Linked DNA regions of Homo sapiens: all the other regions are linked to region 6. The links are contacts of gene promoters, found by promoter capture Hi-C in blood cells and fetal thymus (Javierre and others, 2016). All regions are on one chromosome and are shown on one strand. Each heading gives the region's core, a stretch centred on a gene start or on the middle of the fragment in contact. The rest is flanking DNA. Distances are from core to core; before and after follow the strand shown. Region 1 overlaps PHACTR1 (phosphatase and actin regulator 1). Region 2 overlaps PHACTR1 (phosphatase and actin regulator 1). Region 3 overlaps PHACTR1 (phosphatase and actin regulator 1). Region 4 has its middle 44 kb from the start of CD83. Region 5 overlaps PHACTR1 (phosphatase and actin regulator 1). Region 6 holds the start of SIRT5 (sirtuin 5). Region 7 has its middle 63 kb from the start of CD83.

Evidence for each region. Contacts are between HindIII fragments. The CHiCAGO score rates a contact against its expected background, and 5 or more counts as called.
Region 1: a fragment that was not itself captured here is called in contact with the fragment with the promoter of SIRT5 in region 6 in 7 of 17 cell types (monocytes, M2 macrophages, total B cells and 4 more); the score reaches 6.6 in monocytes.
Region 2: a fragment that was not itself captured here is called in contact with the fragment with the promoter of SIRT5 in region 6 in 1 of 17 cell types (naive B cells); the score reaches 5.0 in naive B cells.
Region 3: a contact is called between a fragment that was not itself captured here and the fragment with the promoter of SIRT5 in region 6, in 3 of 17 cell types (neutrophils, monocytes and erythroblasts). The highest score is 6.8, in neutrophils.
Region 4: a fragment that was not itself captured here is called in contact with the fragment with the promoter of SIRT5 in region 6 in 3 of 17 cell types (naive CD8 T cells, total CD4 T cells and naive CD4 T cells); the score reaches 6.2 in naive CD8 T cells.
Region 5: a contact is called between a fragment that was not itself captured here and the fragment with the promoter of SIRT5 in region 6, in 1 of 17 cell types (monocytes). The highest score is 5.5, in monocytes.
Region 7: a contact is called between a fragment that was not itself captured here and the fragment with the promoter of SIRT5 in region 6, in 1 of 17 cell types (naive CD4 T cells). The highest score is 5.8, in naive CD4 T cells.

The regions. Positions count from the first base shown.
Region 1 is chr6:13,199,756-13,203,419 of GRCh38, reverse strand. The region is part of intron 7 of PHACTR1 (phosphatase and actin regulator 1); the gene reads right to left. Among named protein-coding and RNA genes, the nearest start is that of TBC1D7, 130 kb to the left of the region's middle. The HindIII fragment of the contact is 794 bases long and covers 942-1,735 here.
Region 2 is chr6:13,217,690-13,221,165 of GRCh38, reverse strand. The region is part of intron 8 of PHACTR1 (phosphatase and actin regulator 1); the gene reads right to left. Among named protein-coding and RNA genes, the nearest start is that of TBC1D7, 110 kb to the left of the region's middle. RefSeq lists a silencer at 3,383-3,476. The HindIII fragment of the contact is 1,272 bases long and covers 716-1,987 here.
Region 3 is chr6:13,249,789-13,253,150 of GRCh38, reverse strand. All of the region lies in intron 10 of PHACTR1 (phosphatase and actin regulator 1), which reads right to left. Among named protein-coding and RNA genes, the nearest start is that of TBC1D7, 77 kb to the left of the region's middle. The HindIII fragment of the contact is 2,763 bases long and covers 361-3,123 here.
Region 4 is chr6:14,071,854-14,075,057 of GRCh38, reverse strand. No RefSeq gene overlaps it. Among named protein-coding and RNA genes, the nearest start is that of CD83, 44 kb to the left of the region's middle. The HindIII fragment of the contact is 8,249 bases long and covers 1-3,204 here.
Region 5 is chr6:13,181,316-13,184,797 of GRCh38, reverse strand. PHACTR1 (phosphatase and actin regulator 1) reads right to left here. Exons shown (of 15, transcript NM_030948.6): 7 at 2,112-2,279. Among named protein-coding and RNA genes, the nearest start is that of TBC1D7, 150 kb to the left of the region's middle. The HindIII fragment of the contact is 5,224 bases long and covers 1-3,482 here.
Region 6 is chr6:13,573,323-13,576,504 of GRCh38, reverse strand. It overlaps SIRT5 (sirtuin 5), which reads right to left and starts at 1,904. Exons shown (of 10, transcript NM_012241.5): 1 at 1,761-1,904. It overlaps LOC105374937 (a long non-coding RNA gene), which reads left to right and starts at 2,071. Exons shown (of 2, transcript XR_926497.4): 1 at 2,071-2,540. RefSeq lists enhancers at 967-1,552, 1,142-1,621, 1,553-2,139 and a silencer at 1,832-2,351. The HindIII fragment of the contact is 7,984 bases long and covers 1-3,182 here.
Region 7 is chr6:14,053,056-14,056,435 of GRCh38, reverse strand. No RefSeq gene overlaps it. Among named protein-coding and RNA genes, the nearest start is that of CD83, 63 kb to the left of the region's middle. The HindIII fragment of the contact is 3,354 bases long and covers 1-3,070 here.

The DNA of each region.
Region 1 (3,664 bases), core at 89-2,588, 370 kb after region 6:
ACAACAAGTCTGAGGTAGATGCCATTATTATCTCATGTTTACAGATGATGAAACAGGGTCTCTGAAGACACTATGCTGCACTTCCTGTTTACATAACTGTCTCCTCTCCCGGAGAAGAGTGACAGTGTGTAATTTATTATTGTACCTCAAACCTCAGCATCTTGTTCAGTGACCAGCTCACATCACAAGAGATGCAAATCATGTTTACAGAATGAGCCAAAGTTATGATGATCTGCTGTGGGATGAATTCACACCTTCCCCAGAAATAGATACTCTAGGAGGGAGATGTGAGCCTGAAACAGATTACAATTTTAGGATCACGCAGTTGTGGCATATGGACACTAAACTTCTGATCCTACCGCTGAGACACAGAAAATTCTAATCATTTCAGGGGGCCTGATAAGATTGCTCCCCAACACCAGAATGCAAACCAGTCATAACCACAGGCTTCCGCATGTTCATTCCTGAGGGCTTGTCCTGTTCATTGTGACCCCTCATGCACATGGTGCAAGGTCACCACATTCAGGAACTTAACAGGCAGGCTAGCTAGTTCCAAAGTGCTGAGACACGGAAAAACTCAACACCATTGTCCAGCTCATCTTACTGAAGGGTCCACTTACATAGCTCTTAGAAGCTTCAGTGCAGGCGGGCGCGGTGGCCCACGCCTGTAATCCCAGCACTTTTCGAGGCCGAGGCAGGTGGATTACTTGAGGTCAGGAGTTCAAGACCAGCCTGACCAACATGGTGAAACCCCGTCTCTACTAAAAATACAAAATTAGCTGGGTGTGGTGGCAGGTGCCTGTAATCCCAGCTACTTGGGAGGCTGAGGCAGGAGAATCACTTAAACCCAAGAGGTGGACTTTGCAGTGAGCTGAGATTGCACCATTGCACTATAGCCTGGGCGAGTGAAACTCTGTCTCAAAAAAAAAAAAAAAAAAGCTTCAGTGCAAACCTAGCAAATGCAGTATGTCCTGAGGTGTTAAGGATTTTGCTCCAGGACCCTTAACCCATAGTCCTTCATTTGAAGACTCTGATTCTCTAAGGCAAGTAGGTGCTCATTTGCTTGGTCAGGAGAAAGAACCAGGAGGGCAGAGTGGAATTCTCTGCCTAGGAAGGAGCAGTGATTATATTGAGTTCTGCCCATCTTGTTAATCAATAGCTTCTCGTAACATTCCACCACTTCTTGTGACTTCTTCCATAGCAAAACCTACTTGGTTTCATCACTAGAAAATTGGCCAAGTGAGCCCCAGCAATTCTATGGAAACAGGCAAGGAAGAAAAGGCCAGCTGGACCAAGTTAGTGGAGACGGTTGTTCTTACTGTTCCAGGAAAGGCATGCTGGGGCCTTGGGGAACCCCCCTCCTTCTTTCCTGCTGCATCTCCTTTCTGGTCATTGTGATGCACATAGCTATGAATTAAAGGGCAGCGAATAAAAGCAAATCATTTAAAATCATTTTTGGCTCAGTGGATTTCATAAAAATGAACAAAAGTAAGAAAAGGGCTAAAATCAGGTAGAATTACTTGCTTTCTGTGAATTAGCCATGCAGTCTCTATCTTTCCCTAAAATTGTGGATAACTGAGGAGAGGCTGGGCAGCTCATGTCTTTGTTAGAGTGGCAATGCCTATTTGTATATTTTTACAACATCTTAACACCAAGTCATTCCCCATAACATAACTAGAGGCACGATTTGGAACCAGCTGCATATTATCTGTCATTCTGAACTTCCATCTAAGCTTTTAATCTCCCTTTTCCCACTCAGACTTCTGTATTCTCTGGCTTCTTGACCACTACACCAGTCTAGACACTCATCTCCTCTTATCGTGTGGATAATGCGGTCCCAGCCCTCTGATCTGTCCCCACTCTGTACCAGATATCTATCTCCCTACAGCACCTGCTGGGCATGCGTGAGGTCCATGATGGCTCCATGCTCAGTCCATGCTGCAAGTCCAAGTATGACTCTGTCTGGACTCTACTATGAGTCTCCCACTTACATCTCTCTCGTCCACTCTGGCCTCTGGATTTCCCGATAACCACGCTCCTTCTCTCTTCAGGGCCTTTGCTGTACTCACCTCCTGAAATGCCTTCCTGTTCCTTGATAATAAAAATTGCATTTGCCCCTCAAGCGGCAAATGAAGACCCGCTTTCCTCTGGCAGCCTTTCCTCCCTTAACTCCTACAACCCTGGTGGTCAGCAGCGCCAGTGAATTTGGCTCTGTTTTGTGCTGGTTACTGCTGGCTCCATTTGGGTCAGCCCTGTCTTCCCAGCTAGTTCCTGGATGGCTCCTCCTACATGTGCTGCAGCAGGACTCTGAGGCTGGGCAATGATGGAACGTGCTCACTGCCCTGTGGTCCTCAGGACCAGGACTGGGGGTGCATCAGAATCACAATGATGCTCATTCCTCTTCTCAGGGATTCTAGGTTGGGTTCCAGCATTATATTTCTTTCTTTTTTTAATTTTTTTCTTTTTTTTTTTTTTTGAGACAGAGTTTCGCTCTTGTTGCCCAGGCAAGAGTGCAATGGTGTAACCTCAGCTCACTGCAACCTCCCGCTCCCGGGTTGTTCAAGTGATTTTCCTGCCTCAGCCTCCGAGTAGCTGGGACTACAGGTGTCCGCCATGATGCCTGGCTAATTTTTTTTTTTTTCATTTTTAGTAGAGATGGGGTTTCACCATGTTGGCCAGGCTGGTCTCAAACTCCTGACCTCAGGTGATCCACCCACCCCGGCCTCCCAAAGTGGGTGGCCACCCAGTGCTGGCCACCTGGCCCAGCATTGCATTTGTAAAAAGCCACAGTCAAAAATAACTCTTGGCCTCTTACTTTTGTCCTTTTCTCTGAACAAAAGGGCACTATTTCTTAGAGCAGAGTCCTTGGAACACCTGCAATAGTTGCCTGATGCAACTTCATGTTCCTGGGCTTTACTTTGGACCTGCTGAACCAGAATCTTTGGGCCAGACATTTGGATTTAAGATGCTTCCTGGCCGGGTGTGGTGGCACGTGCCTGTAATCCCAGCACTTTGACCCCGTCTCTACTAAAAATACAAAAATTAGCTGGGCGTGGTGGCACGTGCCTGCAATCCCAGCTACTCGGGAGGCTGAGGCAGGAGAATCGCTTGAACCCAGGAGGTGGAGGTTGCAGTGAGCCGAGATTGTGCCACTACACTCCAGTCTGGGTGACAGAGTGAGACTCCATCTCAAAAAAAAAAGATTCTTCCCAAATGCTCAGCATATACAAGGAGCTGAGAATCACTGGCTCAGGGTGCTAAATCGCTTGGTGTATGGTGCTGCCTGAGGCAGGGATACTGCAGCACTCAAGGCCAGGATGCATCAGTTCCATCCAGCATCTGGACCAATGTCCATCCTGGGGGGTCATTGGGATAATTTCCAGATTCTATTTCTATGCTCCCAACATGTAAAAAGTAAAAGAGCAATTTTCCCTAAACCAATTTATTAAAAGCTAATTTGCCTAAAATCTATTCACCTAATGATTATCTTGTCCACATTAGAATGTGCAATTAAAGGATACTTCTTAAACCAATTTGTCTAATGGCACTTCCAATTGAGTTTTATAAAAATCATTTGTCATTGAGCCTTTTGTAAATGATAAGATGTCTTATATCCTTGTGGGTGAATTTTTCTATTTTATTTCTATCTATAGAAATAAAATCT
Region 2 (3,476 bases), core at 102-2,601, 350 kb after region 6:
TGCAGTTGCTCCGCCCCAGAACTCACCCTTCAGATTTTGGCCTAGAGAGAGCATCCTGCCTATCTTTCAGGGATGACTCAAATCTCATTTCATTTGAGCATCCTTTTCTGATTTTTCCAATGGAAATCAGTCCCTTCTCTGCACATCCATAGCCTCTGTTCCCAGCTTTGTTATAGCATCTGCCACATTATGTTATAATTACAGGCTAAGCATTTACCCCCCACGCCAATTAACTGTGAGCCTCTCCAAGACAGAGGCTGATGATCTTCCTGCCTCTACCTCTACATTGCACATGTGTTTGGAACTGATGGATAAGTTGATCAAATATTTGAATTGAAGTCACACACAATCAGAATACACCACATTACATTTTCAATTACTTAATTTGCTAAAATTAGGATCCCTGACCCTTAGATAGAGTCTTGCTGTTGTAGGGAAATTATCTTTGTGAAAGGAGCATTAGGATTTTTGGAAATAGTGCTCTAGAGGTCTTTTTCCTAAGAAGACAACTCAAGGAGCTAAGGCACAGAGATCTATGCAAGCAAGAGCACATTGGTACCGTGTGGCCTTCATTCCAGGACTGTGTCTGCACAGAAGAGGTAACAGAGAGAGCTTATGATATTCCAGTTTCCAATTCTATACTCACAGGCCGTCAGCCCACTTTAATTCAGACTGTCCAAAGTTAGGCTGCTTTGTAAGGTGACGTCATTAAGCTTGATGAGATCTATATGGTTTCCTCTTATACTAACATTCTATAATGAATTTAAACAAAGACCAAAGGCCTTAAATTATTTTCCAAGGGAAAAACAGATGAATTTCTGCTCCCTATCACCTAGGTAGCACCAAATAATGTCATTTTCTTGACAAATGTAATAGGGATGAACATGCAGAAACTGAACAGCATTCCATGATATTCACAAGATGTTGGACAGATAGATGCACCATTTCGGAATATTTCCACACAATGTCTTAAAGATACCAGCGGGTTCCACAGCTCAGGATGAAGGAGCAGGAGCATCTTTCAAAACCACCACATGGCTACCGCAGATGGTCCTTTAGTGCCCTATGAAAGCGTGTTGTAAATGTTCATCATCTCATTTAATCACCACAAAAACTTGCAGAGTTAAGAAGGGTATTGTTATTATCTTGATTGTTTATGAATGGGGACATGAGGTTTCTGAGAACACAGTGATCACTCGGCAGTGATCACAGCAGGATGTGAACTCAGGTCTTCCCACCCAGGGCCTGTGTTCTTTCCATGAACCATGTTGCTTTCTCCTGGAGAATCAGCAAAGCCCATCATTTTTTCTGTAGATGTATATGCTGACTATGAAATGCAATTTATACCGCAAATTTTAAAAACCGTGGACTATAATATTTTTATAACAAAAAGCAAGGATAACAGATGTTCACACAATCCAGCTACTCTCTTGCTATGAATTTTGCTGTGAAGAGTCCCATGATGAGCGCTATTATGGAACACACAGGGAGGGGGTTTGAATTCTAGACTTGGGGATACAAGTTTTGTGTGAGTAGCACATGGCTGGGGGTGAGTAGGTGTGCGGAGAGAATAGGCGACAAGAGGAAGGACAGAATAATTACCAGGCTGGATAATCCAGCCTTGCACAACGGAGCGCTGCTGATAAAAAGGGGTCGTGCAGTGGGTTTTGTATCTGTTGTGGCCACTTTAATAACACGTCTCCTTGAGGATAGAGAGGCATCACCACCACGCTCCTCCCATGACCCTGCATGATGGTTCTTCAGTGCCCCGTCCCTGCCCGACATCACATTACACATTCACAGGCTTATTACCTGTCGCTCCCACTAACGAGTAAGCTCACAAGGATGAGGACTTTGTTTCATCCTCATTTTCCCCTAGAGGATGGAACAGCTTAAATGAACAGAAAATAATGAACAGAAGTATCCCTAAAACAGAAGCCTTGCTATTTACACAAGAAACACTGAAAAGAGACATATTTGGAAAGCTTGAGAGGAAAATGGCAGTCCCGAGTCAATAAAAGGCACACATTTAAAACTGCCTTCCTCTCATCACATCTACAGGATGCCTTAGGGAGGTGAAAAGCTGTACTCTATTCCCTTGGTCTTGTTCCCACCAAGAATGACCTTTACCAAGCCTTCTTTTTGGAAAACTCGACTCTTCTCTTTAACTCTGTTAAACTAAGTAGGAGATGCATAGGTTGAGAGCCCGGGTAGATAACCATTTCTGCCTCCTTTCCCTTTTTCTACCTTTTCTCTTCTCTTCTCTTCTCTTCTCTTCTCTTCTCTTCTCTTCTCTTCTCTTCTCTTCTCTTTCCTCCTCCTCCTCCTCCTCTTTTTCTCCTCCTCCTCCTCCTTCTTCTTCTTCTCCTCCTCCTTCTTCTTCTTCTTCTTTTTAAATAGCTCATTGCAACCTTGGACCTTTGGGCTCAAGCAATCCTCCCACCTCAGCCTCCTGAGTAGCTTGTACTAACAGGTGTCACCATACCTGGCTAATTTTTTGATTTTTTTTGTAGAGATGGGGTCTCGCTATGTTGGCCAGACTGGTCTCAAACTCCTGGGCTCCCAAAGTTGTTAGGATTACAGGAGTGAGCCACCGTGCCTGGCCTTTTCCCACCATTTCAATGGCCGAATATTTTTAAGGGATCTCTAGACTTCAAAAATGAAGACACTGACTTATCTTTCATGTTCATTACTGGATAAGGGTAAGGCCCAGACTTTACTTTCAGTCTTTCATACAGGAATGAATGCCAAGACATCTACAGTGAGTCTGGGTCATTATAAGAGGCACTCCCTTTTCAAGGGGGCTTTGTAATCATCACTTTATCTCCATTCCACGGTACAGGCTGATGAGTAGGAAATCACTGTGACCCATCCATGGGAGGGGAATTACTGGCCGGCAAACACCTTTGAAACTCTTGTAGGGAATCAAGGGCAGGTCATAAAATTGAAAATCACTGTCTCTTTTAAATCCTTAATCTTTCTCTAAAATAGGTGGGATCCATTTCACCATCATTTCTAAAGAAAAACATGTAATAAAGGGAATATTGCTTTCTGATATCTGATTTTAAATGCATCCACTGTTAAAAAAAAGAAAGACATTAATCTCCTCAAAGGACAGAGAAAATTTATTATCTACAAATATGACACTGAAAGCCAAATTAAACTTCAACAGGAACAGCTTTTGTAATTTAGTCTGCACAAGTTATGAAGAGAGTTTTCAGAGGGGAGAGAGAATAATCAGCCACTTTCCTCTTGGAGACCAAAAATGTGTGAGAAATTATGCTGCAAATTGCAGTGCCTGAGGCTGAAAAATAGCAGAAATAACCAATGTAGCCTAAGAAAATAGTTAATCAGCTTCTTTTTAAGAAAGCAGGCATACATTGTGTGGTTTATCATGGCCTAGGATTAGCCTTCTAAGATAAGACATGTAACATTAAAGCTTTTGTTTTTTGTTGAACTTTAGTCAGCAGGAAACT
Region 3 (3,362 bases), core at 493-2,992, 320 kb after region 6:
TACTTCCCAAGGAGAGGGCTGAGGATAGAGGGTGGGGAAGAAGCCAGGAGACGGGTGGCAGGAATCCCGATCCTTTCCCTCCTCATTCAGTGGGGCCACAGCTATTTTCCTTCCAGCTGTCTCCCAAAGTCTCTTCTGAACTTGTTTCTGGAAACAATAACAACTCAAGTTCAGATGAGATCTCATGCTATTTAGAAACCTGGAAACGAAAACACAAAAACCCCAAGGAATCTCAGATGCTCAAGTGGAGGGGGGTTTTGGCTGCAATATTTTGCTAAGTTTTCTATAATTCTCCTTTAATAAAAGTCTCATTTTCCCTACCTTTCCTGACCCATGGTCCATAAATTTAAACATAAAGCTTCATTTTTAAGCCAATAGCCTTGTAGCCCAAAGGAATGGTATGAATATAGATACTCTCATTAATCTCTAAGTGTTTTCCTGCGGCCGATACTCTTTCACAAAATACATTTTTCTGCAGATGTGACACAACAACAAAGAGACCCCTCTCCTCTCCCCCAAAACTTTTTTTTTTTTTAATAACAGCAGCATGGCAGATTTTAAGAATGTCTAACCAGTGTAGATTTGTATTTTTGCATTCTTTGAAAATTGGTTAATTATAATGAGATCAGGATAGATGGAATTTTAATAATGGAAATAATGGAATGAGTTATTTATCCAGGAAAGGATCTATTTATATGGGAAACGGAAAGAAGGAAAAGAATGGAAAATGGAGAGTCAAATGGAAGTTTCAAATAGACTTTATCCTTTTCTTTTTTAGACTTTTTTCTTTTCTTTCTTTCCTTTTTCTTTTTTTTTTTTTTTTGAGACAGGATCTTGCTCCGTTGCTCAGGCTGGACTGCAGTGGCACGATCTTGATTCACTGCAACCTCTGACTCCCAGGCACCTGGCTAATTTTTTTTTTCTATTTTTTTTTTTTTGTAAAGGCAGGGGTTTGCCATGTTGCTCAGGCTGGTCTAAGCGATCTGCCCTGGGCTCAGGCGATCTGCCCACCTCAGCCTCCCAAAGTGCTGGGATTATGGGCATAAGTCACCGTGCCTCCTGGCCTTTTCTTTCTTTCTTTCTTTTTTTTTTTTTTAAGGCAGGATCTTGTTCTGTTGTTCAGGCTGGAGTACAGTGGTGCAATCACAGCTCACTGTAGCCTCAAACTGCTGAGCTCAAGTGATCCTCCCACTTCAGCCTCCCCAGTAGCTGGGACTATAGGTGTGTGCCACCATGCCCAGCTAATTTTTAAATTTTTGTAGAGATGGGGATCTTGCTATGTTGCTCAGGCTGGTCTTGAACTCCTGGCCTCAAGCAATCCTCCTGCCTCAGCCTCTCAATCCCCTTATTATATATATAAATTTAAATGATTTTTCACTAATTCTTCAGCTAATCTACTCAATGGCTTGAGAGAGAGCCCTTGAGAGCGCAGATAACTGCTTTCAAATAGGAGACTCAAAGAGAGGCTGAATTTAGAGCTGGTATCTGCCATAGGACTGTCAGAGCTCAGCCTGGCACACATTAGTCCGTGTTCTCTTCCCTTCCTTATGGTTTTTTGTTTTATTTTCTCACATTCCGGTCACATCAAATACACTCAACACACACATGCACCATGAATACATCCCCACCCTCCCCTATATGAGGCCAGACAGACATCAGAGACCACAGCGCCCCCAGCACATGGGCAGGCAGTTTCTTGATGCTGAAATGCCCCAGCTGGAGGCCGGTGAGAACCTGGACAGATCCTATTTGCAGCCCTGCACCCGTGACCGTAATGTCCCTCTCAGGGAGCACCAGACAAACCAACTCCTGCAGTGAAGATAAACACCTGCCTCCATCCTGAGGGAACGACTGATTGTGTAACGTTCCCCTCAGTCACAGGAGCCATCTCCCCCTTCTAGGAGAGCGCCCGCCTATGGCCAGCATCCCACCCGATGTGTCTCTAACAAGAGGTCACTGGGAGGCTGAGTGTGCCTGGCAGGCAGAATCCTACCCACAGCAGACAGGGACACACAGCCACTCGGGGCCCTGAAAGCTGCCCTTCTCAGGTGGCTGCCACTCATGGGAGAGGCATGTGGACGATGCACAGGGACCACTGTCAGTAGCTCCTTTCACTGATCAGAAGATTGATTGTGTGTGTGTGTGTGTGTAAAATGGATATGTTTTCTTCATACAATAAGTGTCATGTAGAGGATTTGTCAGCCTCTCTTCACCACAGTGTTACACACATCCCAAGCATATTCCACGGTTTTGCAATTTGCCAGAGCTCTTGCCACATCTCTTCCTATCTGTGTAACACTCCATTTGTGCACCACCTGTCTTGAGGATAGACCTGTCTTGCGCCCAGACCTGTCTTGCGCCCAAGGAGTCATGTTTTAGTATCTGGCTCTTACTCGTTGGCGACCCTCCTTCCAGCCCCCACCTTTTCCTGCAGGACTTGGAATCTAGCTTCAGCTGCAAAAACAGGAACATACTTCTCACACCTGCTGATATTTATTTTCAAGCTAAGCCTGCATGGCATGGCTGTGGCCTTCCTTTCTTAAGGACAACATACATTTTCTGCTTACACAGATTCCTTCTCTCAGTCTGTCTGCACAGCCAGCCCCTTCTTATCTGGCCGGCAGCTGAGCTGAGCTGCTTTCAATGATACCTGGTTGTCCTTGAAGTAGCTTTTCTAACTGCTCAGGTAATAAATCAAGTTTGAAAAACTGGACCGTATTCCCAGCATAATCTGTATGCTATATGATGCTTCACAGGCGGATCTGGACTAAGAAGTAAAGGTAAATGGGATTATTTTGATGATTAGAGTAATGAGCACAAAGGAAATCCCTATGTGTGTGAGGATGAATTTAGTTTCTTTCTCTAATGGAGATATTTCGGGCACATGCACTTTCTAAATAGATCTAGGATCAGCACTGTGAGAGGAAGGCCACATTCTCTAATGTCCTCAGTCTAGGTCCTTAAATGTCTCATTTCTTTTTTCTTCAAAGGGCCAGATAGTAAATACTTTGGGTTTGTGGGCCATACAGTTTCTGTTGCAGCTACTCAACTCTGCCATTATGGTGTGTAAGCAGCCACAGAGAGCAGGTAAATGAATGAGTGTAACTGTGTTCCAATAAAGCTTTATTGACAAAGACAGAGAGTGGGGTGGGTTCAGTCTGTGGGCCACAACTGGTGGGCCCCTACCATGGAGTGTCACCAATGTCTGAAAACTATTTCCTTGAAGCATCAGCCAGTGGAGCAGAACCACATAAATGGTCATAACTTACAAGACGGAAATTATTTTGGTTTCCCAATGAAAAATGAAATAGGTGATTCTTTAGTCACCATACTTTTTTTTTTTTTTTTTTTTTGAGACGGAG
Region 4 (3,204 bases), core at 617-3,116, 500 kb before region 6:
GTGGTTATAATTGTGATTTTCAGTAAGTTCTTTCACATACAAATCCCATTATAATTCTCAGGACAATCTTTTGAGGTAACTATCATAGCTGGCACAGTTTAGTTTTCGGTGAAGTTTATGACACAGTGGGGCTTTGTTCTGGTGTGCTGCCTCTTCGTTTAATGTAGGTTTAGGTATCTCTTGTATAATCTGAATACACCACACATTAGGCCCCGGTTCTGGACTTGAACTGTGGTTTTATTATATGAAATAAAAAGATTTTAACCACAGAATAGTTATTCTTCTGACAGACTGCTACTTGTATCTCTGATTAATTTATGTCATGCTTGGTTCTTAATCAAGAGTCAACCAATAATTAGAGCAGGGTCCCTGCAGGAAACTATGATCCCATTTATGACAATCCATTATGTGATTTAAATTGCAAGAAGGAACCATGGGGAAAAGGGGAGTATAAACCTCATTTATAAATTAGACCTTGACTTTTAGTTGAGCTATTCCCTTTAACTGGATCATTCCCATGATCAAAAGACATTTTCCTTAGAAGTAAATATTATCCCTGTGACCTTTTATACAAAAAGACATGAAATTATTGAATGATACTTTTGAGCAGACACATTTTGAGACATTAAATCTCTCTCTCTCTGTGTGTGTGTGTGTGTGTGTGTGTGTGTGTGTGTGTGTGTTTTCTAGTACATTTCCTCTAGCCTAGTGGTTATCAAACTCACCTGTACATTAGAATCCCAGGAGAGACAGATTGTGAGAGGTACAAAAACCCTCAGATATGGCTTGACTCTGTTTCCACACAAATCTCATGTTGAATTGTAATCCCCAGTGTTGGGGGGAGAGCTGGTGGGAAGTGATCGGTTCATGGAGGTGGATTTCCCCTTGCTGTTTTCATGATAGTGAGTGAGTTCTCATGAGACCTGATGGTTTAAAAGTACGTAGTGGCTGGGTGTGGTGGCTCACATCTGTAAGCCAAGCACTTTGGGAGGCCAAGATGGGTAGATCACCTGAGCTTGGGAGTTTGAGAGTAGCCAGGGCAACATGACGAAACCCCGTCTCTACTAAAAATACAAAAATTAGCAGGCCATGGTAGCATGTGCCTGTAGTCCTAGCTACTCAGGAGGCTGAGGCACAAGAATCACTTGAACCCTGGAGACAGAGGTTGCAGTGAGCTGAGATCATGCCACTGCTCTCCAGCCTGGGCAACTGAGCAAGACTCTTGTCTCCAAAATAAAAAAAGTGTGTGGCACTTCCCCCTTAGCTCTCTCTCCTGCTCCATCATGGTAACACATACTTGCTTCCCCTTTGCCTTCTACCATGATTGTCAGTTTCCTGAGGCCTCCCAGCCATACTTCCAGTACCGCCTGTGGAACTGTGAGTCAATTAAACCTCTTTTCTTCATAAATTACCCAGTCTCAGGTAGTTCTTTATAGCAGTGTGAGAACCGACTAATACACCCTTTCTTGGGGTCTGGATTGGGACCCCTTTCCGGTAACAAAGTAACAATTTAATTAAAAAATTAACACATTCAAACATGCAAAATATACTTCTTTATAATAAAAAATAAAATTATTTATCTCAAATATGAATAGCAAAGTGTTAGTATCTATATACTAAGAAGTCCTTCTAAAGTAGTGGGAAAACATGAATTACCCAGTAGATAAACTGGGAAAGATACAGGCAATAATCTCCCCAAATCCCCCAATTTTCCTATTTGTGAAAATACAAATAGGAAACAGATATATGGGGAAATGTCCAATCTCATCAGTAAGCTGATGTAAATTTTTAAAATAATCATCATATATCTTCTAAATTAACAAAGGGTTTTTAAAGACAGGACCTTATGCTGGTGAATTTATGATAAAATTAGAACACCCTTCAATGCTGTTGATATTGTCAATTTATACAACTCTTTGGCAAAGCAAACTGATAATATATATTCATTTAAACAAGGTGTTCATATTCTGTGCTCCAATTATGCAATTCTTGAGAATTTATCCCAAAAATGCCTCCTTAATTCAAGTGAAGGAAAAAGCTCTATGAAGGAAAAACATCAAAATAGCAAAAAATTGGAAAAGAAATGCATATGCAAAAATGGAAGCATAATTAATAAATTATGGTATATTATCTCCCTGTATACAGCCACTTGGTAATTACAAAGGCTATAGGCCATCATGAGAAAATGTACATATTATATTGAAACAATATAAATTATATAAAAAGGTATATTCTGTTTATATTTGCATTTAAATATTGATGTATAAACAAAAACTAAAAGAGAGTTTACCAAAATAAAATGTTTATGCTTTTATATTCTCTGAGCTAGTCTTCATTTATTCAGTACAAATTATTTTATTTTATTTATTTATTTACAGTGGAGTCTTGCTCTGTTACCCAGGCTGGAGTGCAGTGGCATGATCTTGGCTCACTGAAACCTCTGCCTCCTGGGTTCAAACGACTCTCCTACCTCAGCCTCTCAGGTAGCTGGGATTACAGGCATGCACCACCAAGCCCAGCTAGTTTTTGATTTTTAGTAGAGATGGGGTTTCACCATGTTGGCCTGGCTGGTCTTGAACTCCTGACCTCAGGTGATCCACCCACTTTGGCCTCCCAAAGTGCTGGGACTACAGGTGTGAGCCACCATGCCCGGCCAGTACAAATTGTTTTAGTGTCTATCCTCTCAAAAGATAAAGACCCTTAAAAACCAAGAGGCATGTTGGTCAGGCTGCACTCTGGCTTCGGGTGGAGAATTTGTTGGTTTGTGTGTTAAGATGAGTCAGATGCTGGGGAGAGTGGAGCACATGCCCAGTGTATTCACCGAATGTGGCTCATGGGCTTTTAAAAATCCCCTTGGCTTTTCTTGCTAACAGCCTGAAATTACGGGAATCAGCGGGTATGTCTGCATCATATTGAGAATTTCCCTTTTCACAAAAAAGCACTAGGACCACTTTTTTTTTTTTTTTTTTTTTTGAGACGGAGTCTCACTTTGTCACCCAGGCTGGAGTGCAATGGCGCAATTTCAGCTCACTACAACCACCACCTCCCGGGTTCAAGTGATTCTCCTGCCTCAGCCTCCCAAGTAGCTGGGATTACAGGCATGTGCCACCATGCCCGGCTAACTTTTGTGGTTTTAGTAGAGATGGGGTTTCACCATGTTGGCCAGGCTAGTCTCGTACTGCTGACCTCAGGTGATTTGCCCGC
Region 5 (3,482 bases), core at 635-3,134, 390 kb after region 6:
TGAGGGGACAACCACATGATACACAGGAGACATTACACAAACGCAGTGCAGGCGGGGCCAGCGGGGAACACAGGACAGGGACTCGGGCTGGCAACACAGCGGAGCACCGATGCTTCAGGCCGCCACGCATGTGTAGAGAGCTACAGCGAGGAGGCCAGAAATCCAGTGAAGCAGGAGGACAGAGAGAGGAGGCAGAGGAAGAGAGAGAGTGGAGGCGGGAAGAGCAACAGGGAGAAAGAGGAGGAGGATGTTTTCTCAAAACCATCAAACACTTGACCATTTCAAACTCAGCTTTGGTCATGCAAACCCTACACATGCTCTAAGATGGGACTCATGGGGCACAGCAGGAATCACCAGGGTGGCCAGTGCAGAAGGCCCAGGATGCAGAGCCCCTCTAAACCAAACCAGAACTGAATGCCAGCAGCCTCGCTGGGGCCTGCTTGCCCTTTGCTGAGGGGCAAGAGGGAGTGGATTCAAACAAGTGGAGGGGCTCAGTTTTGTCCACTGGGTCCGCTCTGTCTCTGCTCTCAAATCTGCGACACTGGGTACAGATGACAGCCTGGAACGCTGACACCTCATAGGCTGCACCCCAGGCACTGGACGGCTGCTCCTCCAGGTTCTGGAGTGCCCGGCGCTGAGCAGCAGCCTCTCAGCCCAAATTCTGTAGTTTTAGCAACAGCATCCTGCCCCCACCAGCTCCTGTAAACTTTGACGAGGCAAGGGATGCTTTAAATCAACCTTTTCATCTTCCCCTTTCCTCTCTCTTCTTGCTCACCACAACTATAGTTTTCTTTTATCAATTCCTCCATTTCTCTTTGCACTGCATTGGACGCGCCTCTTCCTTTCTTTCATGGGGGAACCCCTGACTGGCTTTCATGAAGAGTTGTCATTGGGTGGTGGCACACACCTTCCTATCATGCCGGTAGCTTGGCTGATGACAGATTGAAACTCTGTGATTCTGCTGGAATGACAGATTTTTACTATAACAGTCAAATCTATCTGACTTCAGTGTCACAAGGAAGTCTGGATTCTTTTTAAAAAAGCACTGCTTTCATTGGGAAACCCTCCCTGGGGTGGGAGGGTGTAACTCCACTGCATCTCCTCTCACCTCCCGCCACCGCCTCAGTGAGAAAGCCTGTAAGGGACTCCTCCCCTCCCCACCCTCCTTCCTCCTCCCTGATCAGGTGTTCTGTGCAGCACCAAAGCCCTGCTGAAAATCCTCATGAGCACTACATTCTCCTGCCTCAGGGACACTATTATTGTCAATGTGGCACACAGTGATGGAGCAATGACTCACCGGGTCCCATAACGAAGCATGGGAATTAACCCTGTGAAACCTCATCCCTCCCACCCTCCCACGTGACTGCCTATGGATGTGGATTTTGCACATGATGGGGAGAGAGGCCTTTCTATCTATACTCTGGATATTGCAAGAGGTTCCTTCTCCCAGACTCATCTCCTGACAAGTACCACTGCTCATTAGCTGTCAGGAGGGACCTATTTTGGGGCAAATTAGGACCGCTCTGCAAACCTTCTGAGAGGATGAGTATTGGCCACTCAGCCACCTTTGGACCAAAGAAGGAGATGACAGTCAGATGGCATCAAAAATCAGCTATCAGCAGGATACAATTCAATCAGTAAATTATATACAGTTTAATAGACAATTAAATTAATTGACTATATCCAGTAAATTGATACAAGTATTAACTGGCATACTGGGACTAAGACTAAAGGACCTTTCAGACAGACGAATTAGATAGGTATCATATAGAAATGTAGGATTCCTCAGCTTTATCTTAACAGAGATGAATGTTAAAAAACAAAATAATAATATTTTAAATCATTAATGTTACAAAAATAAGCCATATCATCTTTAAAGAGATTAAGGTAGTAAAGAGTTTTTTAAACACTGTAGGATAATAAGTGTAAGTATATTCCATTTTTAAAAATACTCAGTATGTACTAAAAACTAATCTGTTTCACTAAATTTCCAGATCCTTACGCTCAGGATAGTCCAAAATAGAATTCCAAGTCCAGCCAGGCCAAAGATCCCTGGTGCCTGGCTGGACTTGGTGTCTGGGACCTGCTCTACAATCCTGCCGGGGCATTACCTGGCCCATCCATGATGTCTGACGGTTGGAGCACCTCATATGAGCAGGGATCCCTGGGCATTGGGACTGGCTCCATTTCGGACAGGGCAGGCAGAGACAGCTGGCTGGAGCTCAGGGACTGCCCATTTTCTAGGGAGTCCTCTTCATTGGATATAGAGAGTTCCCCATCTGTCAGAGAGAAAAGGAGATTGCAGAGTTAGACAATGTCTGCCTTTCAAGAAAGAGTGGCACTTCCCGCCTGCTGAGTCTAGATGCTGCTGAACAATCAAGGTCAGCCTCTGAAACCAACATCTGTTATTTTGCTTTTAAGACATTTATTTCATCGTTAGAGATATGTTGTCTAATCATCAGGGCAAAAATTTCCAATGATCTTCAGCATTTTGCCTGTTTTCTCTGTGTCTTTCTAACCCGAATCCATCACGTTTTCTATGTATTATTATTATTACTTTTTTTGAGACAGAGTTTCACTCTTGTTGCCCAGGCTGGAGTGCAATGGCATGATCTTGGCTCACCACAACATCCGCCTCCCGGGTTCAAGCGATTCTCCTGCCTCAGCCTCCTGAGTAGCTGGGATTACAGGCACGTGCCACCACACCCGGCTAATTTTGTATTTTTATTAGAGATGGAGTTTCTCCATGTTGGTCAGGCTGGTCTCAAACTCCCAACCTCAGGTGATCCGCCCACCTGGGCCTCCCAAAGTGCTGGGATTACAGGCATAAGCCACCGCGCCCGGCCATTTTCTATGTATTTTTAAAAATAAAAAGTAAATTAAAATTATTTTTTTCTCATAATTTCTAAAAACTTGGGAAAAAACTCAGCAAGCCTCAGAGATTGGAAGACCAGGATTGGGAATTCCTACTTTAGGGAGCAAAGGGCTTCATGTCATTCAACACGCACCAAGGTCCTGTCTTCTGTTTGCCTCCACCCTGGTCCAATTTCTCTACTTGGATAAACTATTAGGACAGCTCTCATCTGCACCTAACAGGCTGCAGCCACTCAGCGATGCTGGGAAGTGCCAGAATTCTCCCGGTGCCGACCACCAATCACGCCACGTAGTGCAGACTTTGATGTTGCTTAAAGCTCAGCAAAACAAGGACCACGGTGCAGGATCAAAGGCTCCCATACAATGGCCATTTGTCAAATCACAATTCCCCCTGTGTGATTTCATCCTAGCCCAGGGGAGTCTTAGATAACTAGACATTAAAGTCAAATTAATTTTTAAAGAGGACTGAAAGCTGTTCCAGCGAGATGAATAAACACCAGATGAAAGACTAAGTTCTGCCGAGTCAGAAACAGAAACCAGCAGAGCAATTATCCGACTTAAAACCAGAAGCAAGATGACAACTCGTAGAAAAGAAACAGTTAAGTGAC
Region 6 (3,182 bases), core at 655-3,154:
ACGAATAACCCGGTTAAAAAATGGACAAAGAACCTGAACAGGTATTCCTCAAAAGAAGACATATGAATGGTCAACAAATACATGAAAAACGCTCAACTTTGCTAACCACCAGGGAAATGCAAATTAAATCACACTGAGCTACCACCTCACGCTTGTTAGAATGGCTATTATAAAAAAGATCAAAGACAACAAGTTTTGTCCAGAATGTGGAGAAAAGGGAACCCTGGTACACTGTTGGTGGAATGTAAATTAGTACAGCCATTTTGGAAAACAGTATGGAGGCTCCTCAAAATCTAAAAATAGAATTACCACATGACCCAGAAATCCTACTTCTGGGTATATATACAAAGGAATTGAAATCAGTATGTTGAAGAGATAGCTGCATTCCTGTGTTGTTTTCAGCATTATTCACAATAACCAAGATATAGAAGCAACTAAGTATCCATCAACTGAGGACCGGATAAAGAAAATGTGGCACATATATACAATGGAATACTATACAGTCTTAAAACAGAAGGCAATTCTGTCATTTGCAACAACATGGATGAACCTGGAGGACATGAGGCCAAGTAAAATAAGCCAGGCACAGAAGGACAAACAGCACATGATCTTACTTATATACTTGGGGTCTAAAAAAGTTGAACTCATAGAAGCAGAGTAGAATGATGGTTACCAGGGGCCTGGCAGAGGGCTGATGTGGAAGGGAGGGATGTTGGTCAAAGGATACAAAGTTTTAGTTAGGTAAGAGGAGTAAGTTTTAGTGATCTACTGCACAGCATGGTGACCATAGTTGATGATGTATTGTATATTTCCAGGAGAGTAGATTTTCACCACAAAAAATAAGTAGGTGAGGTGATGGATATGTCAATTAGCTTGATTTAATCTTTCTACAATGTATACATATATCAAAACATTACACTGTACGCTATAAATATATAAATTTGTCAATAAAAATAATTATATAAATATATATTTATATAAAACAAAATACATGCTAAGGATAATGCAATGAACTGCAAAAAGTTGTACAGGCTCCCAATAAATAATTTTTGAACGCCTAAGAGCTAAATAAATGCAATACATCACTCCCAGGTGTCTCCACTAGGGGGCCCCATTCCCTCCCGTTCCATCACCTGCTTTCCTCAAGGTCGTCTCCACCCTCCTATTTGTTGATACCCGGCCTCTGACCCAGTTCATCACTTTCCCGGGCTTCCGGGCGCCACCCTCTTCAGGTTTTCCTCCTACCCCTCCAGCCCTGCCCCTCTGGATCTCCCATCCTCCCAGCGCGCCAGACTGCATGCGGCCTCCCCGCCCTGTGTCCAAGAGGCAGCTTCCACTCCACGCGGGCAAGCCTGAGCTCCAGAGCCGTCCTCAAGCCGCCTCCCCCCGAAGCACTGGGACTTCATCCTCCCGGCTACTACTCGTGCCCAGGGACTAGGCCCTGAGCCTTCCCTTCTCGCACGCCCCATAGCCAAGCTGCTCAGCAGAACCTGACGGCTCCACCTTCAAACTACGTCCGGAATCCGACCCCTCTCCACGCCCACTGCCTCCACCCCGGCCACCTTCCTCGGTCACCCTGGCAGCTGCAATGACCAGGGTGACCTTTCTGAAAAGGGAGGCTCTGTTCGGAGCCCTCGCGGGGCTCCCCAGCACAGCGGCCTCCCATGCCCACCTGCTCGGGTGGGATTACTTTCCAACCCCGTTTCCATCCCCCTCCCTGGTCTCCAGCCGCAGCGACCCCCACGCAGAGCCCGGAAGACCTTGGGCCCCGCACATGCTGCCGGCCCGCTAAGAGCTCTGGGTACCCCCGGAGCGCCTTCCAGGCTTTCTCCTAGAGGCGCTGTGTCCCGACCGCGCTCCGGACCTGAGCCACGGCTCACCTGGGGCAGCTCGCGCCCCCGAATACAGTCTCCCACGCCCCGCCCCCCGGGGTGCCTCCCTCCCAGCTCTCTGTACCCACCCACCATCCCCCACATCCCTTCCTCCAACCGCTAGCCAGTCACCAGCCCGGGACCGCAGGGCAGAGGCCGGGCCGCGCATGCGCACCGCGGACCGGTGCCACCTCCGCTCGCGAGCCCGCGGCAGGCCCTGGGCGGTGCGCGCAGTCCCGCGAGAGCAGTGCTTGGTCGGGACCTCGAAGCCGGAGCCCGAGCGGGAGAGGCCGCGGAGACCCCGGCCCGGCGCAGGCAGAGACGCACCTGCGGGAGGCGGGCGCGCCGGCTGGAGAGGAGGCCGTGGGGCGGAGCGGCTCAGCGTTCTGCTCGGCTGCAGCGGCCCCTGCCGGAGACCCGGGCGCCGTGGTCTTCTTTATAATTGAAGGATTGTCTCTCTGTTTTTATTTGGGGTGGGGGTGGGGGTGGGGGGCGGCGCAGTGACTTGCTTCGACTTTGTCAGCTTCCAGGGTTCATTCCACTGCCCAAATATGTAGTGAGTTACTACCGGCTTTGCTTCCTCCTTCAGCAAACGGCTGGACCACACAACTTCAGGAGAGAGGATTTTAAATGTTAGGGTCATTTTCCCTAAAACGATTTCAAATGACGGTGAGTTGGTTCCCAGGCTAGGCCACCTAACCTCGAACGCAATGACGAGTGCACTCTGACTGCTGAGCTGAGAGCCTTCCGTGGCTCTGGGACCCAGTGACTCACGTGGCTCCGCATGTCCCCGTTCCCTTAAAATCGGAGTCTTTCCTTTTCTTGGATTCCGGCTTGCCACCAGCACCACTTGGCAGAATGGAATTGCTTGCGGGCATGTCAGTGGACTAGAAAGGGAAGTAAGTGGTCTGAGAACTTGGGGGCCAAAAATGTTACATTAACATTTTTTGCCTACCTAAAATCTCAGCCACTTCCCACAGTTTGGCTGGAAATTCAGCCCATGTTGAGGCCCTTCTCATTCCTGCAGGTGTTACCAGCAACTCAGAGGTTTATGGAGTAACGAAATTGGGGAGGGCCTCACATCCGGCTGCTGTTTTTCCCCCTAACGTGTATGGTGCTTATTCTGAGCCAGACACTTTTAAGAACTGCACATTATTAACCATTTTAAATCGTCCCCACCACCTGATGAAATAGGTACTGTTATCCCCACTTTATGGGTGGGGAAACCGAGGCCCAGGGAGGTCAAGTAACTGCGCAAAGCACAAAACTGTTGAGTAGTAGTGTTACCAGGGCAGTCCTGGAGAAATCGCT
Region 7 (3,380 bases), core at 144-2,643, 480 kb before region 6:
CATTACTGTCTTCTACAGTCAATGATGATTACGCTTTGCCTCTGTAAGAAAAAGTCAATGAAGTTTTTTAAGTATTAAGAATTCATGGCCAGGCACAGTGACTCATGCCTGTAATCCCAGTATTTTGGGAGGCTGAGGTGGGTGGATCACTTGAGCCAGGAATTCAAGACCAGCCTAGGCAACATGGCGAAACCTTGTCTCTATGAAAAAATACAAAAAATTAGCCAAATGTGGTGGCGCACGCCTGTAGTCCCAGCTACTTGGGAGGCTGAGGCAGGAGGATTGCTTGAGCCTGGGAGGTTGAGGCTTCAGGGAGCTGCGATCATGCCACTGCACTCCAGCCTGGGTGACAAAGCAAGTCTGTTTCCAAAAAAAAATAATAATAATAATAATAATAATAATAATAATAATAATCACACTGCTTAGATTATAATAATAATCACACTGGGTACTTATTAATTATTTGAGTGAGTGAGAGTGAATGAGAATAAATGAAAGACAAGAGAACAGTCGTGCCATAGGTCCCTGCTCATCTGATGGATGGCTACCTTATTCTGTGCCTGAAAAGCAGAGACTTCAATACAGCTCTAGGCTTGCCTTCTGTAACCCACAAACAGATCAGTCACAGAAGAATAACACTGCGGAGAGGAGTGTGCTGAGAGGGAAGTTGTTTGTCATTTGTGAATCAAAAGCAAGACTGTGAAGGCCCCACCCCTAATTAATTGCAGGGATAAAGGTGAGTGTCTCATAGTGTAAACAACCTGAAGCAGCTGGTAAAACAAGTCCCCCAAGGACCAGATCCCAGCTAGCTAATTAGCAGATGCTCACCTGAGCAGACATCACACTCAGAGTCTTAAGGAACCTACCAGTATTTTAAAAATCAGCTGTGTTATGAGTTATTCTTCCAAGTCAAACAAGATAGGATCAAACTGTAGGGACCTAGTTTCAAAATTCAAGCTGTACCTTTAGAAGAAGGGTGGAAAATCACACTGCAGCAGAGAACAGGGACTAATTACAGTAAGTACAGTATTTGCTAGTTCAGATGTAGTTATTCTACTTTCAGTTGTATGATTTTGTAAAAATCAAGAGCATGCTTTGATTAAATATTCTTCTAAATTCATTCATTCGACATACATATATTGGCACCTGTTTATATGTTTCATTTTATTTTATTTTATTATTATTTTTTTGAGACAGAGTCTTGCTATGTCGCCCAGGCTGGAGTGCAGTGGCATGATCTCAGCTCACTGCAACCTCTGCCTCCTGGGTTCAAGCAATTCTCCTGCCTCAACCTCCCGAGTAGCTGGGATTACAGGTGCGTGACACCACACCAGGCTAATTTTTGTATTTTTAGTAGAGACAGGATTTCACCATGTTGGCCAGGCTGGTCTCGAACTCCTGACCTCATGATTCACCCGCCTTAGCCTCCCAAAATGTTGGGATTACAGGCATCAGCCACTGCGCCCGGCCATAAGTTTCATTTTAGAAGGCAAGTGTCACAGCACTTTATGAGAAGAAACTAATCTTTTCCACTTAAATGGGAGTGATATGCAGACAGTGGTGGGGTGCTGGAGCCAGTTTGTACTACCCACGGGAGCTGATTGTTAAATTTTCAGGATTTTGCAAGCTGGTTGTTAAATACAGCTATTATTAAAAACTAAAATGATGGGCGTGGTGGCTCATGCCTGTATTTCTAGCACTTTGGGAGGCCGAGGCGGGTGGACCATGAGGTCAAAAGTTCGAGACCAACCTGACCAACATGGTGAAACCCCCGTCTCTACTAAAAATACAAAAATTAGCCCAGCGTGGTGGTGGTCACCTGTAATCCCAGCTACTCAGGAGGCTGAGACAGGGGAATCGCTTGAACCCGGAACGCAGAGGTTACGGTGAGCCGAGATCGCACCACTGCACTCCAGCCTGGGTGACAGAGCAAGACTCCGTCTCAAAACAAACAAACAAACAAAACCCTAAATTGTATAAAATTGCAATTAAATTGTATTAAAAACAAGGGTGATAAATACTCAAAACATCTCTTTCTAATAATTTTACTACATTTTGTTATTACCTAGGCTCTGGGAGTTATTTTCTTCTATTGGACCTGTATTGTCAAAGTACTACATAATGATATGTATGCACATCTCGTCTGGTCAATGTGCGCAGTAATGTCACGCTGGAAATCAGCCATACAAGGAGTATTTACACCACAAAAATTGGCAAACACTAAAAGTCAGGGCTTTTTTGTTGCTTGTCTATACTTTAAAAGGTGACAGGAAATGTTAATGATGCAGATTCAATGTAAAAGTGTGTCATAAAACTGAAAAGCAGATCTATAGCTGCTAGATTGTGAGTAGCACCAAAAATTGAGGAAATATTCTTCCAGTATGCAAAAATACTGGGAGAGCCGATTCAAAAATACTGATGATCTAATTCAGTGCTGTTACTCATACTGACTAATGAATGAAGTTTCCACATCTTGATGGTTTTCTTTCTGTTCATTCAGAATAAACAAAAACATCCATCAGCATTCATGTTAGAACTACACTCATTTGTTAATGCTTTGAGTGACTTTGCTGAATGGGATAGTAATCAAACGTTAGTTCATAGTTTGATTTTTGTCAAATCATGGTTGGATTAGAACCCCAGGTTGACTATGGATACAATAATTCAGCAGAAATCAACAAAAGCCTTTTGTAAGAATCAATTGGCTATTGAAATTTATAATCAAGAGTATTGCCTACTTTATACTTATTTGTGAATTGTGTGCTACACACTTTACATCAGTAAAATTTATGATAAATATATGTGCTTATATATCTGCATACATATCTTTCCTAGAAAGCTAGTTGTTGAACAAACATTTACCAGTGCACCACTTTGTGTGGAGTTCCAATAAAGGCGAAGTAAGCCAATCCTGCCAACTTCAGCTATATATCAACCACCAAAATAAAAATGACTTAATATATCCTGAAAATGCCTGTGATTGTTTAAAAAATGCCAGACAACAGCCATAGATGGAACAAACTATAATAAGGCACATGGTAGGCTGGCTTAACTCAGTCATTTCCAAGCTTTCAATATTACCTGGGTATAAGGGGAAATGTTCCCCTTCCTTCACGGAGTATATTTCCTCCACCTCTTCATTCCTGTACACCATTGTTCTGGAATCCGAAATGTTTCCTAGTTTAAGCACTGCTGAAATCTCACATTATTGTATGCCTAGTGACAACCTCTGCTTGTTGGTGTTGGTCATTGTTGCCAATAAAACAAGCAGAGTTATCTGGGGATGCTGGAAAAAGTGTTAGAAAAATGTGTTCTCAATGTAGTGGGTGAGTTATAGGGTGGAAAAGCCGATTGCACAGAAGGCCCAGTACCAACTGTTG